2 separate regions of the Homo sapiens genome follow, and region 1 is linked to region 2. The links are contacts of gene promoters, found by promoter capture Hi-C in blood cells and fetal thymus (Javierre and others, 2016). All regions are on one chromosome and are shown on one strand. Each heading gives the region's core, a stretch centred on a gene start or on the middle of the fragment in contact. The rest is flanking DNA. Distances are from core to core; before and after follow the strand shown. Region 1 overlaps ARL14EP-DT (ARL14EP divergent transcript). Region 2 holds the start of HTATIP2 (HIV-1 Tat interactive protein 2).

What was found. Contacts are between HindIII fragments. The CHiCAGO score rates a contact against its expected background, and 5 or more counts as called.
Region 1: a contact is called between a fragment that was not itself captured here and the fragment with the promoter of HTATIP2 in region 2, in 1 of 17 cell types (activated CD4 T cells). The highest score is 5.4, in activated CD4 T cells.

Annotation. Positions count from the first base shown.
Region 1 is chr11:30,314,600-30,318,239 of GRCh38, forward strand. All of the region lies in intron 1 of ARL14EP-DT (ARL14EP divergent transcript), which reads right to left. Among named protein-coding and RNA genes, the nearest start is that of ARL14EP-DT, 6.5 kb to the right of the region's middle. The HindIII fragment of the contact is 723 bases long and covers 1,730-2,452 here.
Region 2 is chr11:20,361,863-20,365,106 of GRCh38, forward strand. HTATIP2 (HIV-1 Tat interactive protein 2) reads left to right here and starts at 1,852. Exons shown (of 5, transcript NM_001098522.2): 1 at 1,852-2,570. The coding sequence starts at 2,376. RefSeq lists silencers at 1,853-2,272, 2,059-2,201. The HindIII fragment of the contact is 1,649 bases long and covers 752-2,400 here.

The DNA.
Region 1 (3,640 bases), core at 841-3,340, about 10 Mb after region 2:
TTAAGAACTGTCTAACCCAGCTCATTTGATAGCCTATTGACCAGTGAGTTAAACAAAACTCTAATTCAATGATAGCAGCATCCTCTGCCCTTTCCAAAAGTGCAGGACAGGATAATATTATCTCATGGTCAAGAAATGTATTAAATATGTGGAAAAATAAAATGTAAAAGAGCATGAGGAGAAACTTAGTGAAAATTAGCAAAACAATGTTCTGTTCTCCCTCTGCTGGCTTTTAGGCAGTATTGCTCTTCAAAGATCTGTCCAAAGGCCCATATGAAATTTTTTCAAGGAATCTCAAAAATATCTATAATGTTTTGTAATTTTTTCCAAAAATATTTAGAATGCTCATAATGTTCATCTAAATAAGCTCCACCAAAGCTAGAGCATCCCCACCAAAGCCATCATTACCTTCTCTTCTTATCACAGATAATGACTAATACAAAATAGATAGAACAAGTAGAATCTAGTGGCTTGACCAATTTTCCAAAAGAGCAATTCAAAAGAAGTAATTGATATTAATATTATAAATAGATATTATGTTTTCTAGTTTTCTAAGAATATGATTCTTACAGATTGAGATGCAGCCTGATTGAGTAGGAAAAACACTGCATTTTTAGAAAGACAACCTGGGTGTGAGTCTTGACTATCCCTATTACTTACTGGTTGTACAAGCTTTACAGATTGTCATTTATATGTTAGTTGTATAACATTACCATTTACGGAACTAAGTCTCATCAACCTCTAAATGAGGAAGCTATGCAACAGAATTGTTAAATCCTTTTCCAGTTCTAGTTTTTTTGTTCCCAGTGCTGTTGAATTATTAATTTTTAATAATTAATTTCTGCATTTAATTCACACCATTTTGGTCATTCGAAGATGTAACCAAAATGGTTCCTGTAACCATCAGCTTCCTTCCTTGACGTTGTGCCAAACACACTGTGGACACCCAGATGAATCCTAATTGACACAATAATGATTGTGATGGCAATAAAGAGCCCTGGGGTTTTTATTTGAGCCAAATTCTTTCCTAGTTATATGGCTAGTATTTTGAATAGCAGCTGTGAACAAATCTGTATTTCCTTCCCCTACGCCACCCCCACAACAGTCTGAAATCTTTACTTTAAATGAGACAAATCAGAAGAACTGCTGAAAAACACAGTTTCAATCTGTCCTTCTGCCCAGTCATTAGTTAAATCCCCTATATCACATTTCTTTAAATCAACTGACTCTTAAATATTGTTATAAGGAAAGCAAGGCCAAGGTGGGTGTGAGGTTAGGGGATACTAGTTCAAATAATGACTCCACTTCTTTTAAATTTAATACCCATCTTTCCAGATTGAAATATACCATGTCATGAATGAGATAATACATGTGAGCTTATCATTCCAGTGTTTTCAGACATAACTGGAGGTCCATAAATAGTAGCAAGAATAATTATAGCTACCACTTATTGAGAACTCACTATGTGCCAGGCACTATGCTAAACTATATATATAAAAAGTTATACACAAACACACACACATACACAAACACATATTCATTTATTCCCCACAAAAACCCTATAAGGCAGATGCTACTTTCTCTATTTTACAGATAAGAATTTGAAGCTTAGAGAATTAATGTAATTTCTACACATTATCCTACTAGTGGCTAAGCCAGGATTTGAACCAGGCAGTCTGATTCCAGAGCCCACTTAGAGTTTTGTTTCATGCCCCAAGGAGGATACTGAAGCTTTAGAAAGCAATTAGTTACGCACCCTCCAGAATAACTAAAATGAAAGCCAACAATAACAACTGAGAACTCCAAGTGGTGGTGAGTATGTTTATGAGTGTAAATTGGTGCTAGAAGGAATGTAAATTGATGCAACCACTTTGAAAAACTCTTCAGCAGTATGTACTCAAACTGAACATACACATTGCCTATAATCCAGCAATTCCACTCCCTACTACATATCCAAATGAAAGTGTAAATGTATGTGGACCAAAAGACAGAATGTTCAAATGTTTGTTGCAGCATTATTTGTAGAAGCCCCAAATTGAATGAACCCAATGTCCATCAACAGTGAAAGAGATAAAAGAAAATGTTGTCGGTTTCACGTAATAGAAATACCACTCAGCAATGACAAATATTTAATTGCTTACGATGTCATACAGCATCAATGAATTTCAAGGACATAATACTGACCACAAGAAGCCAGACACAAAAGAATATATGTGGTACAATTCCAAAGCTCAAAGTCCAGAAATAACCAAAACCAATCTATGGTCAAAGAAGTTAGAATGGTGGTTACCTTTGGTAAAAGGTGCTCACAACTAGGAGACAGCATACAAGAGACTTCTGGGGAGCTCATAATTTCTTGACCTGGGTAGTGGTTATACAAATATAAAAATGTATCAAGCTATAGACTTAGAACTTGTGTACTTCTTTGTGGTATGTCAAAATTCAGTATGAAAGCTTACACAAAGGAAATGAAAACAATTACTAAGAATTCATTCCCCTCATTCCCTTTCAGAGTACATGCCATCTCATCCCAAACTTGGGATTCTTGCATGCAAATGTTTCTCTTTTTTCCTAATTCTTGGCTCCTTTGCACTTTCCCAAGTGCGTTTAATGAGAAGCTGTGAATTTCTCACAGGAAACTACCTCACTAGCTGATATCCTAAACTTCAGTTCCACTCTCTGACCACAACTGTTCATTGTTTCAGTTTGATCACAGATTTCACCTCCTTGCCTTCAATTTTGATTTTGAAAGCTCCATTTCTTTTCATTCTCAACCAGCTTTCCCTCTTTCGTTCATTTGTTTATTTGAAGAGATTTATCACTTCAACAATTCCACTTACTCAACTAATAGTGCTAGGCTCCTGGAATACTATAGTAAATTAAACTGACCTTATGTCTTATCTCATGATTCTCACCATCTAATGACTTCCATGAAAAAACCCTAAACTCTCTTGTCTCTTGTCCTTCTTACACATCTAACCGTCAACTGCTCTTGCTTAAATTAATTCTGTTGTCTGCCTTCACTGGTCCCACACAAGGGCAACTATACACTAGGAGAAAAATTGAAATTTTCACATCATTAATTTATGTCTCTGCATATTCATGGTCTCTAACTTCATCTAGGTCCTAAATGCTGTTCTATGTCCCTAGCAAGCTTTCTCTTTATTTTTCCTAACCTCTAATTGAAATTTAGCATTTCATTTATTTACAAAAGGCAGGCAACAAATAATAGTATTAGCAGTGCCTATTAGTACTGCTGCAGTACTAATAACTTTGTTTACAGTGTCTATAACTTTGTCACCAACAGAAATCACATAATTTTTTGTGTCACATTATAGTTGTTACAGATATCTCAGGATATATTCATATTCATTACTACTTTGCAATTATGGTAGTTATTAGATTTGACACCAGACCATGCTATTGTATGCATTAGGATAAGTATTGTAGCATTTTAAAAAAATATGTTTTTTGACACTCCTCCCATCAAGAGGTAAAGATTATGTTTCTTTCCTGTGAATCTGGGGCAAGCTCAATGACTCCCACATAACCAAGAGAATTCAGTGGAAGTGACGCTATGTGTTTCCAGGGGCTAAGTCATGAAAGGCAAAGAGGCTTTCACCTTGCTTCCTGGAGCACA
Region 2 (3,244 bases), core at 602-3,101:
AAGAAAATGTTTTAGGTGAAAGAAATTGTCATATTCATCTTTATAGCAACATAGTCATAAGACATAATTTTTGATTATATAAATAGTTTGTCATATTCATCTTTATAGCAACATAGTCATAAGACATAATTTTTGATTATATAGTGTGTGTACATAAAATGAAGGGGCTCATGAAGTGCTTAGGGCCCATAGAAATCATAATGCAGGCCTACAAACAAGAATAAATACTAAAATATGTGTTAAGCCAAAAACCTGGGACACAAAAGAGTACATGCTGTACTCTTAAATAGAATTCTACAACAGGCAAAACTAATCTATGTTGATAGTGACCAGAAAGTGATTACCTCTGGAGTGGGGAGAGATTGCAAGAAGGGAATGAAGGCACTTTCAGGGATGGCAGACATGCTCTATATCTTGTTTTTGGTGGTGGTTATTTAGGTGTATATACAATCTCCTAAAATCATGGAACAGAACCTTTAGGTTCTGTACATTTTATTGTATATTAATTATGCCACAATTTTAAACAAAGGGGAAGAATAGACAGGGTACAATGAATAATTTCTGTGACAGATTTGATAAATGAATTACTAGGACAGTGTTTGCTGACAAGGTTTAACATTGCATTCTTGTAGAAAACCTTTAGGAACTCAAAGGGAAGAGTCCAGGCACTGTGACAGGCCAGTGGGGAATGAACCACACTGCTCTATATTAATCAAGCTTTTTTATTGCAAACAACAGAATATATCTGGTAAGCTTATACAGCACAGGAATTTATCAGAAGAATAACAGGAAGTACTGTATTCACAACAGTCTCTGAAAACAGGCAGGAATTTAAGACAAGATCAGACCATCAGATGGCTGGTGGATCATATGATGCCATAATCCTATACCCTTGCCCCAACCAACCCACATATATCTCAGGCCTTCACTGCATCTTTTCATTACTCCTCCAAAACTGAAAACCTATGCGTGAGCCTCTGGCTTGCTGAGCCTAGGCAAAGCCTACATATAATAACTCCCATGGAGATGGAAGAGGCAATGTGTTTCATTGGCTTCTAGATGGGAGGTGGGGCCCCCAAATGACCAATGTTCCCAACAAAACCTGAACAATCTGAAATTATTCAGATTTCTGCTTGTCATTCTAACCTCTGTTCAGGACTTCCAAGATCCAGGACAGGCCCAGTGTAGATACCTGTGTCCCAAACCACTGATCTGGGCTAGGAAGACTGAATCACAGGTGTGGAAGGTCACCCGGGTTCAACCATCTAGGTGATGAATTAGGCCAGGACCTGGGCAGGTAGACCATTTATTCTGGGGAGATATGATGCGAGCTTGAATTACATGGGAGAAATATTTGTAAGGCAGATGGGATAACAGGACTTGATAAGTCTGTAGTGTGGAAAGGCTAGAAAAGAAAGGAATCAAAGGAATCCTGATTTCTGACTTGACAGGGTAGAAGGAGGTGTGTGTGTGTGTGCGTGTGTGTGTGTATGTTTATGTAGGGACAGTGACACCCAAGAGAGGCTAGGAATAGGTTTGTTTTATTCCTGTTTGGGGTGGTTGGGTAGGCAGGGTTAAGTTTTTGACTTGGTGAATTTGAGATGATGGCCAATATACAATTGACATTCCAGCTGGGGGGACCATTGAAGATCAAGTCTGGCAAGTCTACTAGCTGGCGCCTGGGTGAGCTGAGCCCAGCAGGTGAGGGAAAACGCGGGAAGAGGGTCTTGCAGATTCCAAACTTAGGAAGGGTCGCGGCTCCGCGCACGTGCTCTCGGGGTCACCTTCCCCGCGCCTGTGAGGGTGCCAGGAGTTCGTCTCCAGGTCCCGCCCCTGTGGGCGGGGCGAGGCAGCGTCGCCGCGAGGCCACCCGGAAGACCAAGCCGGGTAGGCGCTGTCTCCGTCGCCTCCAACCCCCCCGGTCCGACCAGGGAAGGTGGGATGCTCTGATGGCCGGGCCTGCGGCGCTGAGCGCGGCGGCGGCGGCTGCTCTGGCGGCCGCCCTGCTCCTGCTGCGTCGTGAGGACCCGGGGCCGGGGGCTGGCCCCAGGTAACCCCTCCGCGTATGGGACCGAGCTGGGCCAGGTCTCCTGGCCGGGCCGGGGATACCGTGGGGTATGCCCAGTGATGCCAGCAGCTTGTGGCACCTGGGCGCACCCTCCAGCTCGGGCCCCTTCCGATGGGTCTGCTGGCTCAGGTGCGGGCGATGGCCGGGGAGCCGCGCCCCGCACGTGACTCAGCACTTTCCCCAGAGCCCGGACTGCGGAGAACAATATCCTCCTCCCTAACAGATAAACAGCCCTTGTTCCTCGGGATAAGGACTGGCAGTCCCCTGACACCCTAAGACCGGCATCTGTCGATGTTATTTCCCCAGCATGGCCGAAACAGAAGCCCTGTCGAAGCTTCGGGAAGACTTCAGGATGCAGAATAAATCCGTCTTTATTTTGGGCGCCAGCGGAGAAACCGGCAGAGTGCTCTTAAAGGAAATCCTGGAGCAGGGCCTGTTTTCCAAAGTCACGCTCATTGGCCGGAGGAAGCTCACCTTCGACGAGGAAGCTTATAAAAATGTGGTGGGTATTTCAGCTGGGACTCAAATGGACCCCCAGGATTCTGCGAGGTGAACATATTTCATGCCTAAAGGCTGAATACTGCCCTGCCAGTGGTGGGGGTAGTGAGAGGCCATCAAAACTTGGCCAAGATTGGTCTGTGAGAGTCCCTCCCAGAAGTCTGACTCCTGGATTGTAGCCCAGGTGTGCCTCCCTCCCGCTCATTGTGTGGTCTTGGGCAAAGCCCTTCTCTCCATCTGCAACCCTATAAAGCTGGGTCTGGGTTGTAATGGGGGTGGGGGCTGGTGAGACAGAAGAGCACTGTTTTCAGGGTCATACAAGCTGTATTCTAGAGGCAGCCCTGGTGACCTTGAGAATTTTCTCAGCCACTTTGCTGATTTTGTCAACCTGCGCACTTCACACTAATATTGTCAGGGATTCTGAAACTGCTTTGCAGAGTGAGATAGGTCTATGGCAGTGAAAGGTGGGATTATTCACTTACAAGAATTTGCCCTGCCTGACTTCCCAGGCTTGTGTCTGTAAATCGGATATTCCCTTCACTCTAAGTTAAAGGTTTTTTTTTTTTTTTTTCTGAGACGGAGTCTCACTCTGTCCCCCAGGCTGGAGTGCAGTGGCACGATCTCGGCTCAGTGCAACCTCTGCCTTTCAGGTTCAAGCGATTCTTCTGCCTCAGCCTC